2 separate regions of the Homo sapiens genome follow, and region 1 is linked to region 2. The links are contacts of gene promoters, found by promoter capture Hi-C in blood cells and fetal thymus (Javierre and others, 2016). All regions are on one chromosome and are shown on one strand. The core of a region is centred on a gene start or on the middle of the fragment in contact, and the rest is flanking DNA. Distances in the headings are between cores, read along the strand shown. Region 1 overlaps RDH11 (retinol dehydrogenase 11). Region 2 holds the start of PIGH (phosphatidylinositol glycan anchor biosynthesis class H).

Region 1 (4,626 bases), core at 1,697-4,196, 78 kb before region 2:
AGGGATTCAACATATTAATTTTGGGGGAACACAATTGGAGTATAACAGTAAGCTTGTCAAAAATCAATTGACCATAAATATAAGGGTTTATGTTTCACTTTTCTGTTCCGTTCATTTGTATGTCTGTCCTTATGCCAGTATCACACTATCTTGATTACTATAGCATTGTAGTAAGTTTTGAAATTAGTTTATCTTTTACCTATACTAATTCTTAGCAAAATCCCCCTGGAAATGTCAATACTGTGACCATGCTGATGCCATAGGCACACTTAACTAGCTCTTACTTGGCTGGGCGCGGCGGCTCACGCCTGTAATCCCTGCACTTTGGGAGGCTGAGGTGGGCAAACTACTTGAGCCCAGGAGTTCAAGACCAGCCTAGGCAACATAATGAGACCCCATCTCTATAAAAAATGCAAAAATTAGCCAGGCGTGGTGGCGTGTCCCTGTGGTCCTGGCTACTTGGGAGGCTGAGATAGGAGGATCACCTGAGCCTGGGGAGGTTGTAGTGAGCTGCGATCACACCACTGCACTCCAGCCTGGGCAACAGTGAGACCCTGTCTAAAAAAAACAACCAGAAAGCTCTTGCTGTAGTATTTGATTAGTTTTTATAGCCTACAAGGAACCTTCATGTCAACTGTGTTCTTTGCTCTTAACTGTAACCTTATGAAGAGTATAAGGCACAGTGCAGTGGAGGATGCAGAGGCTTACAAAGGCTGAGTCATTTCCAGAGAGATACAGAGCCTTGTGGTTCTCACTGATGATCTTTTCACTAGGAAATGGCAAGTTGTACTGGTCATACTGGTGAGTCTTCTTAAACAGAAGTACTGATAAGACTTGTTTTGTAAACGTGACGATATTTTGAAATGGTATTTCTCAAACTTTAGTGTGTTCAAGAGTCATCTGGAAAACTAGTTGAAAATAGATTCCTGGACCACAACCCTAGAGATTCTCATTCAGTATGTCTGGAGTAGGGCTGGAGAATTTCTAACAAGCTCCCAGTTGATGCTCCTGCTGCTGGTTTGTGGTGCACACTTTGAATCCCACTGTCTTACTTGACATAGTGTTAAGAGTTTGCATATATAGTTAATTCAGACTTGTCAACTCTTTCACCTTCAGAATTTGCTTAGATACTGAGGAAGCAATTTTCTTGAAATAGTATACTTTTAAAAATTGTTTCCTCACATGACTAAAGATTGTAATACATTCAATCATTTTTTTTAAAACTTTGACTGAATGCTTACCAGATGTATACCAGATCCAGAGAATACAAAAATGAGTCAGAATTGTCCTTAAGAAAATTTTCTGCATCGGAATTATAAAATTATAAAACTTGGAATTACAGGCTGGGTGCAGTGGCTCATGCCTGTAATCCCAGCACTTTGGGAGGCCGAGGCAGGTGGATCACTTGAGGTCAGGAGTTCGAGACCAGCCTGGCCAACATGGCAAAACCCTGTCTCTACTAAAAATACAAAAATTAGCCAGTCATGGTGGCAGGCGCCTATAATCCCAGCTACTCTGGAGGCTGAGGCAGGAGAATTGCTCAAACCTGGGAGGCGGAGGTTGCAGTGAGCTGAGATCGCATCACTGCACTCCAGCCTGGGCGACAGAGTGAGACTCCGCCTCCAAAAAAAAAAAAAAAACTTGGAATTAATTACAGCAATGAAGAGAGGGTATATGAAACACTTTGCTATGATTTGAATGTGTCCCTCAAGGTTCATATGTTGGAAACTTAAGCCTCAATACAACAGTATAGAGAGGCAGGGCCTTTAAGAGGTAAATTAGGTCACAAGGGCAGCCCTCATGAATGGTTTAATGCCATTATCTCTGGAACGGGTTCATTATCTTGGGAGTGGTTCCTTATTAAAGGATGACTTGTGTCCCCTTCCCTCTCTTGCCCATGTCATGCCTTCCATCTTGTTATTACACAGCAAGAAGGCCTTCATCAGATGCCAGCCCCTTGATCTTGGACTTCTCAGCTTCCATAATCATAAGCCAGTTTCTGTATGCTCATTATAGTTACCCAGTTTGTCGTATTCTGTTACAGTACCACAAAATGGACCAAGACACCTCGTACCTTGGTTTTACCATTTCTTTTCTGTGTCGCCTTTTCCTTTTGTTGTTTTCGAAGCTGGCTTTACTTCTCATATGAGTTTACTAACAGTATAACTTCAAGGAGTCCAGAAATAAGCATTTCTTTTTTTTTTTTACTACTCCAGGCATCTCTGACCAATGTGAATAGCAGGATCTCAGCTATATGACATTGTCCAAGGCTCTGTAGAATGGGCCTTATGGACTTACTTGAAGAAGATGGATATACATGGGTGTCAGGCAGGCACTAATATTAAATTATATAAATAGGGGAATATAAAGACCAAATGTATGCATTATATATCAAACAAAGCATTCTGATGAGAGGTGGTCTAGCGAGGAGATCTAAAATGGTAATTACATTTTCTCTGGCTAAGGACTGGAGAATGAAGAGATAAGGACAAACACTGGCCCTGTGAAGTACATGGAGAACATGTGATCCCTAGTTGTTTTTATGTCATATTCCTTATCCCTGGCAGATGGCAGACTTCATTCTTAACACTGTGCTTCATACCTTTCTCTTTACCTTCCAGTGACTGTCATGTGGCATGGGTCTCTGCCCAAGCTCGTAATGAGACTATAGCAAGGCGGCTGTGGGACGTCAGTTGTGACCTGCTGGGCCTCCCAATAGACTAACAGGCAGTGCCAGTTGGACCCAAGAGAAGACTGCAGCAGACTACACAGTACTTCTTGTCAAAATGATTCTCCTTCAAGGTTTTCAAAACCTTTAGCACAAAGAGAGCAAAACCTTCCAGCCTTGCCTGCTTGGTGTCCAGTTAAAACTCAGTGTACTGCCAGATTCGTCTAAATGTCTGTCATGTCCAGATTTACTTTGCTTCTGTTACTGCCAGAGTTACTAGAGATATCATAATAGGATAAGAAGACCCTCATATGACCTGCACAGCTCATTTTCCTTCTGAAAGAAACTACTACCTAGGAGAATCTAAGCTATAGCAGGGATGATTTATGCAAATTTGAACTAGCTTCTTTGTTCACAATTCAGTTCCTCCCAACCAACCAGTCTTCACTTCAAGAGGGCCACACTGCAACCTCAGCTTAACATGAATAACAAAGACTGGCTCAGGAGCAGGGCTTGCCCAGGCATGGTGGATCACCGGAGGTCAGTAGTTCAAGACCAGCCTGGCCAACATGGTGAAACCCCACCTCTACTAAAAATTGTGTATATCTTTGTGTGTCTTCCTGTTTATGTGTGCCAAGGGAGTATTTTCACAAAGTTCAAAACAGCCACAATAATCAGAGATGGAGCAAACCAGTGCCATCCAGTCTTTATGCAAATGAAATGCTGCAAAGGGAAGCAGATTCTGTATATGTTGGTAACTACCCACCAAGAGCACATGGGTAGCAGGGAAGAAGTAAAAAAAGAGAAGGAGAATACTGGAAGATAATGCACAAAATGAAGGGACTAGTTAAGGATTAACTAGCCCTTTAAGGATTAACTAGTTAAGGATTAATAGCAAAAGATATTAAATATGCTAACATAGCTATGGAGGAATTGAGGGCAAGCACCCAGGACTGATGAGGTCTTAACAAAAACCAGTGTGGCAAAAAAAAAAAAAAAAAAAAAAAAAAAAATCCTAAAAACAAACAAACAAAAAAAACAATTCTTCATTCAGAAAAATTATCTTAGGGACTGATATTGGTAATTATGGTCAATTTAATAATATTTTGGGGCATTTCCTTACATTGTCTTGACAAGATTAAAATGTCTGTGCCAAAATTTTGTATTTTATTTGGAGACTTCTTATCAAAAGTAATGCTGCCAAAGGAAGTCTAAGGAATTAGTAGTGTTCCCATCACTTGTTTGGAGTGTGCTATTCTAAAAGATTTTGATTTCCTGGAATGACAATTATATTTTAACTTTGGTGGGGGAAAGAGTTATAGGACCACAGTCTTCACTTCTGATACTTGTAAATTAATCTTTTATTGCACTTGTTTTGACCATTAAGCTATATGTTTAGAAATGGTCATTTTACGGAAAAATTAGAAAAATTCTGATAATAGTGCAGAATAAATGAATTAATGTTTTACTTAATTTATATTGAACTGTCAATGACAAATAAAAATTCTTTTTGATTATTTTTTGTTTTCATTTACCAGAATAAAAACTAAGAATTAAAAGTTTGATTACAGTCAAAAGAAGAAAACACTGTTCATTATTATGGTTGTGCAATGATTTCTCATTCTAAAGAATAATTTGTTCCAGAGTCTAGCTACAGTGTAATCTCAATCCACATGCTATTAATTTAGGTTGTGTGATAATCTAATTGTTCATTCACCATTTCCTACTTAACCTTTTTTGACACTCTTCACAGACACTTTTTCCACATTTCTTGATCATCCCGGGCCATTTTTTTTTCCTTTCTTTTTAATTAGAGACAGCGTCTTGCTTTGTTGCCCAGGCTGGCCTCAAACTCTGGGCTCAAGCGATCCTCCCACCTTGGCCTCCCAAAGTGCTGGGGTACAGGTGTGAGCCGCAGCACCCGGCCCCAGGCTATTGATCCTTTTTTTGCACCTGCC
Region 2 (4,482 bases), core at 1,983-4,482:
GAAAAAGGATTTTAGAGATCTTAGACTACCACAGTATTTATTCCTAATAATTGAGTATTTTTAAAAAATTAAGTAAAGTACATTTGGCCTTTTTCTTTCTATAACTCTATAATTGTGAAACTTCTTAGCCTGCTGGGCATGGTGACTCATGCCTGTAATCCCAACTCTTTGGGAGGCTGAGGCCGAAGGATCACCCGAGCCTAGGAGTTTGAAAATAGCCTGGGAAACATAGTGAGATGCCATTTCTACAAAATATGCAAAAATTAGCCTGATGTGGTAGAGTGTGCCTGTAGCCCTAGATACTTGAGGGGCTGAGGTGGGAGGATCTCTTTAGCCCAGGAAGTTGAGACTGCAGTGAGCCATGACCGTACCACTGCTGCACTCCGCTTTCGGTGACAGAGCAAGACCTTGCCTCAAACAAAACAAAACAAACCAGAAAGAAAGAAAAAGAAAAGAAACTTCTTAGCCTGTACAGGTACCTTTTGTATTGTAGACCCTCTGGAAGTTTGGCGAAATGAATGGACCCTTTATTATAATAATGCTTTAAAATGTATAAATACATAGGACTTCTAAGAAAATCAACTAAATTAAAATATGGTTATCAAAATATTTTAAAAATGTGTTACAGTGATATGTTTCTCTTTATTGACACATTAAATAATAATAGCTAGTGATGGGTTTAATAATTACTGCAATTTTGAAGTAGCAATGACTAGAAATGACATTTTGAAACAATTATTGTGAAAAGAAAATATCTGTGATTTCTGTCAGTGACAAAAATCACAAGCTCTACTAATACTAGTTTGTTGCCCATATTCATAATCAAAAGAAATGTTAAATTTTAATTAGAAGTTAATGAAACTAAAAATGAAACACTGATTCTATCCGTGGAGCCCAAGTTAAGAACTCCAGGACTACAGGCTTCCCCAAAACATTAACAGTACTTATCTCTGAGTGATGGAAATATGGGTGGTTTACATTTTTTTCTTTTCTGTATTTTTCAAATTTTCCACAATAAGCAAATATCACTTTTATAATTATAAAACACATGATATATGCAATAGTAAAAGGGGTGATATGGTTCGGCTCTCTGTGCCTACCCAAATCTCATGTCAAATTGTAATCTCCACTTGTTAGGGGAGGGACCCAGTGGGAGGTGATTGGATCATGGGGACGGATTTCCCCCATGCTGGTCTCGTGATGCTGAGTGAGTTCTCTCACGAGATCTGACGGTTTAAAAATGTGGCACTTCCCCACTCCCCTCCTGCTGCCATGTAAGACATGCCTGGCTTCCCCTTTGCCTTCCACCATTATTGTAAGTTTCCTGAGGCCTTGCCAGCCATGTGGAACTGTGAGTCAATAAACCTCTTTTCTTTATAAATTACCGAGTCTCAGGTAGTTCTTTATAGCAGTGTGAAAACGGACTAATAAAAGGAGTGTATTAATTGTCAGATTCGGGGCACAGAAATAAAACTAGAAAAATAAAGAAGTGCTTGAAGAAATCCTTTAGGAAAAAAGAAAGGGAAATAAAATTCTGAATGAAGATGAAGAAACGGAACCTTTCATCAGAGAGACTTAAAGCTGGTGAGACCTTTATGCCATGGATCTTTTTTTTTTTTTAAATGAATATAGACACAGTCTTGCTCTGTTGCCCAGGCTGGTCTTGAACTCCTAAGTTCAAGTGATTCTCCTGCCTCAGCCACCCGAACAGCTGGGATTACAGGCATGCTCCACCATGCCCAGGTAATTTTTTTGTATTTTTAGTAGAGATGGTTTCACCATGTTGGCCAGGCTGATCTTGAACTCCTGACCCAAGTGATCTGCCCTCCTCAGCCTCCCAAAGTGCTGAGATTACAGGCATGTGCCACCATGCCCAGCCCATCACAAGTGTTTTGACAGTCCACATAGCCACTCCTGGGCCACATCAGAAGTAAAAATGGAACTCATAGGCCACTATTACTCATGAGTTTAGTAATTTTATTATCCATTTCTTCTGCATCTCCCGCTCCTGCTTAATTCCCAGCCAGGTCTTGCCTGTCTACCACGGTCCAAGCAGTCATTTGGGAGACAGAACTCCCAGGCAGTGAAATCCAAACTCCTTACCAGACCCTACAAGACCCTCTTGGATCTGACCCCTACCTGCCTCCCCAGCTTCCAACTGTTTTCCCCACACACCAACCTTTCTCGCCTTTTGATTATTTCATTAAGCCAAGCTTGTTCCAACTTCGAGGGGTTTGCCTTTCCTGGTCTTTCTTTCTGGCAAATTCCTCCTCCAGAGCTCCTTCAGTCCTGTCTGGCTCGTCACCCTTGTAACTCAGTGTCCTCTTACTTAGAGACTTCGCCTGACTGCCCTATGTAAAGTCCTCAGTCCATCCCTGCCAGTCAGCATAGTATTGCCAACGATACTCTCTTATTTCCATATTGTCTCCTACTAGAAAGGAAGCTGCCCGAGGGCAGAGACTGTCATCAACATCGTTCACTGCTGCATCCTCAAGCACCTCAAACTACCCGGCACAGGAAAAGAGTAAGTGAAATGAATACCCGTGGGCTCTCCTTGCGGCTCACTCTGGCTTAGAGAAATCGGCTTGCCAAGCAAAAGCATGATTAAAACTGTGGGTTTGGGCTGGGTGCGGTGGCTCACGCCTGTAATCCCAGCACTTCGGGAGGCCGAGGCGGGCGAATCACCTGAGGTCAGGAGTTTGAGACCAACCTGGCCAACATGGTGAAACCTGTCTCTACTAAAAATACAAAAATCAGCAGGGCGTGGTGGCGCGCGCCTGTAATCCCAGCTACTCAGGAGGCTTAGGCAGGAGAATCGCTTGAACCCGGGGGAAGCAGGTTGCAGTGAGCCGACGTCGCGCCATTCCGTCTCAAAACAAAAACAAACTGTGGGTTTGTTTTGAGACAGGGTCTTGCTCTCTCGCACAGGCTAGAGAGCAGGGGCATGATCTCCGCTCACTGCAACCTCGACCTCCCAGGCTCAAGCGATCCTCCCGCCTTGGCCTCCCAGTGCTGGACTACAGGCCTGAGTCAACGCGCCCGGTCTAAAAACGATTTTAATCTTTCCACTTAACTATTGCCCCGACGAGGTTTTTTCGAAGACAGTCAAGGCCGGCCCGGAAGAACGCACAACCATCAGCCCCCAGCAGAGCTCTCGGCGCGCAACTGAGGCTGCGCAGGCTTAGGGCGGGGCGTGGTGACGCGGCTGCCGGAAGCGGGTCTGGAGCGGGCGAGACGGCCAGGGCCGGCGAGCGCAGTGCAGCGCCGCGCGGTGCGGGCGGCCGAGTGGGGGCGTCATGGAGGATGAGCGGAGCTTTTCGGATATCTGCGGCGGCCGCCTGGCGCTGCAGCGCCGCTACTACTCCCCGTCCTGCCGGGAATTCTGCCTCAGCTGCCCTCGGCTCTCGCTGCGTTCGCTCACCGCTGTCACCTGCACGGTGTGGCTGGCGGCCTACGGACTCTTCACCCTCTGCGAGGTAATGGCAAGTCGGCCCCTCCCCGCGCTCGAAGGAGGGGGTTCGGCTTTGGGAGGGTCTTTGGGGTCTTTGGTCGAGCCCGGACCTCTGGTCGGCCCCTCCTACAGTGATAGGACAGGAGGGCGGGAACTCACGGGTTCTGGGGACGATATTCCGCTGCTGGACAGCTCTTTAAATGACGTTTAGTGAAATGTGTGCTCCTGGATAGTACATTCCCCTTCCGTGGCTGTGCTCTGCTCCGTGGGTTCACTCAGCATACATCTAGTTCTTGCGCGACGGCCTAAAACTTTAACTGCCATGTGTTCTATGTAGTATAGGCGCGCAGTAATTTAATTCCAAGAGTTCAAGGAACTACTAAGTGGGTCTTCCTCGTCCATCCCTTCTGCTCCTCAAAGTAGTACTGCTAACAATACTTTACGTAGACTTCCACAAACTGTCTTTGCCTCCACAAGTGTGTGTGTTTATCTGTGTGTATAGATAGAGTGTTATAGTTCTTCCTAATCTCTGTTTTTCAAGGGAGTTTTTTAACCCTCCCTCCTCCCAAACCCTTCCCCAATTTCAAGTACTTTCTAAAGGTTTATGAAATTTTGGACGTGTGTGATAGCTGTGCTCAATTTCCAGATTCATTCCTGTTTTCTCTGAGCCTCAATTTTCTACATCTCTAAAATAGAATTCATGCCTGCCATACCAGCTTCATGATATTGTGAGGGTTAAATGCAGTAACTTTGTGACAGCTCTCAAATAAAAAGAATTATCCTAATTTTCAGGATAAGTTCTAGTTTCATATGTAGTGCCTGAATTGAATGTATTATCCCAGAAGTGATCTAATCAGAGCTAAGTACAGCAGGGCTATTTATTTTTGTAACTTGGATATTGTTTCCATTACTGCATCCATTCGCTTTTTTGCTGTCAAAGCGTGTTTCAGAGCATGGTAATTTAGCATAGAAATATGCAGAATTAAGACTGCCCTAATTGCAGGAAACTATCTAACTATCTAAACCGTATG

The links. Contacts are between HindIII fragments. The CHiCAGO score rates a contact against its expected background, and 5 or more counts as called.
Region 1: a fragment that was not itself captured here is called in contact with the fragment with the promoter of PIGH in region 2 in 3 of 17 cell types (total B cells, naive CD4 T cells and erythroblasts); the score reaches 6.0 in total B cells.

The regions. Positions count from the first base shown.
Region 1 is chr14:67,676,419-67,681,044 of GRCh38, reverse strand. RDH11 (retinol dehydrogenase 11) reads left to right here. Exons shown (of 7, transcript NM_016026.4): 7 at 2,622-4,245. The coding sequence ends at 2,724. It also overlaps a transcript of GPHN not described here. Among named protein-coding and RNA genes, the nearest start is that of VTI1B, 4.1 kb to the right of the region's middle. RefSeq lists an enhancer at 1-53 and a silencer at 635-734. The HindIII fragment of the contact is 5,784 bases long and covers 55-4,626 here.
Region 2 is chr14:67,599,018-67,603,499 of GRCh38, reverse strand. PIGH (phosphatidylinositol glycan anchor biosynthesis class H) reads left to right here and starts at 3,232. Exons shown (of 4, transcript NM_004569.5): 1 at 3,232-3,476. The coding sequence starts at 3,297. It also overlaps a transcript of GPHN not described here. RefSeq lists an enhancer at 3,235-3,554. The HindIII fragment of the contact is 5,160 bases long and covers 2,216-4,482 here.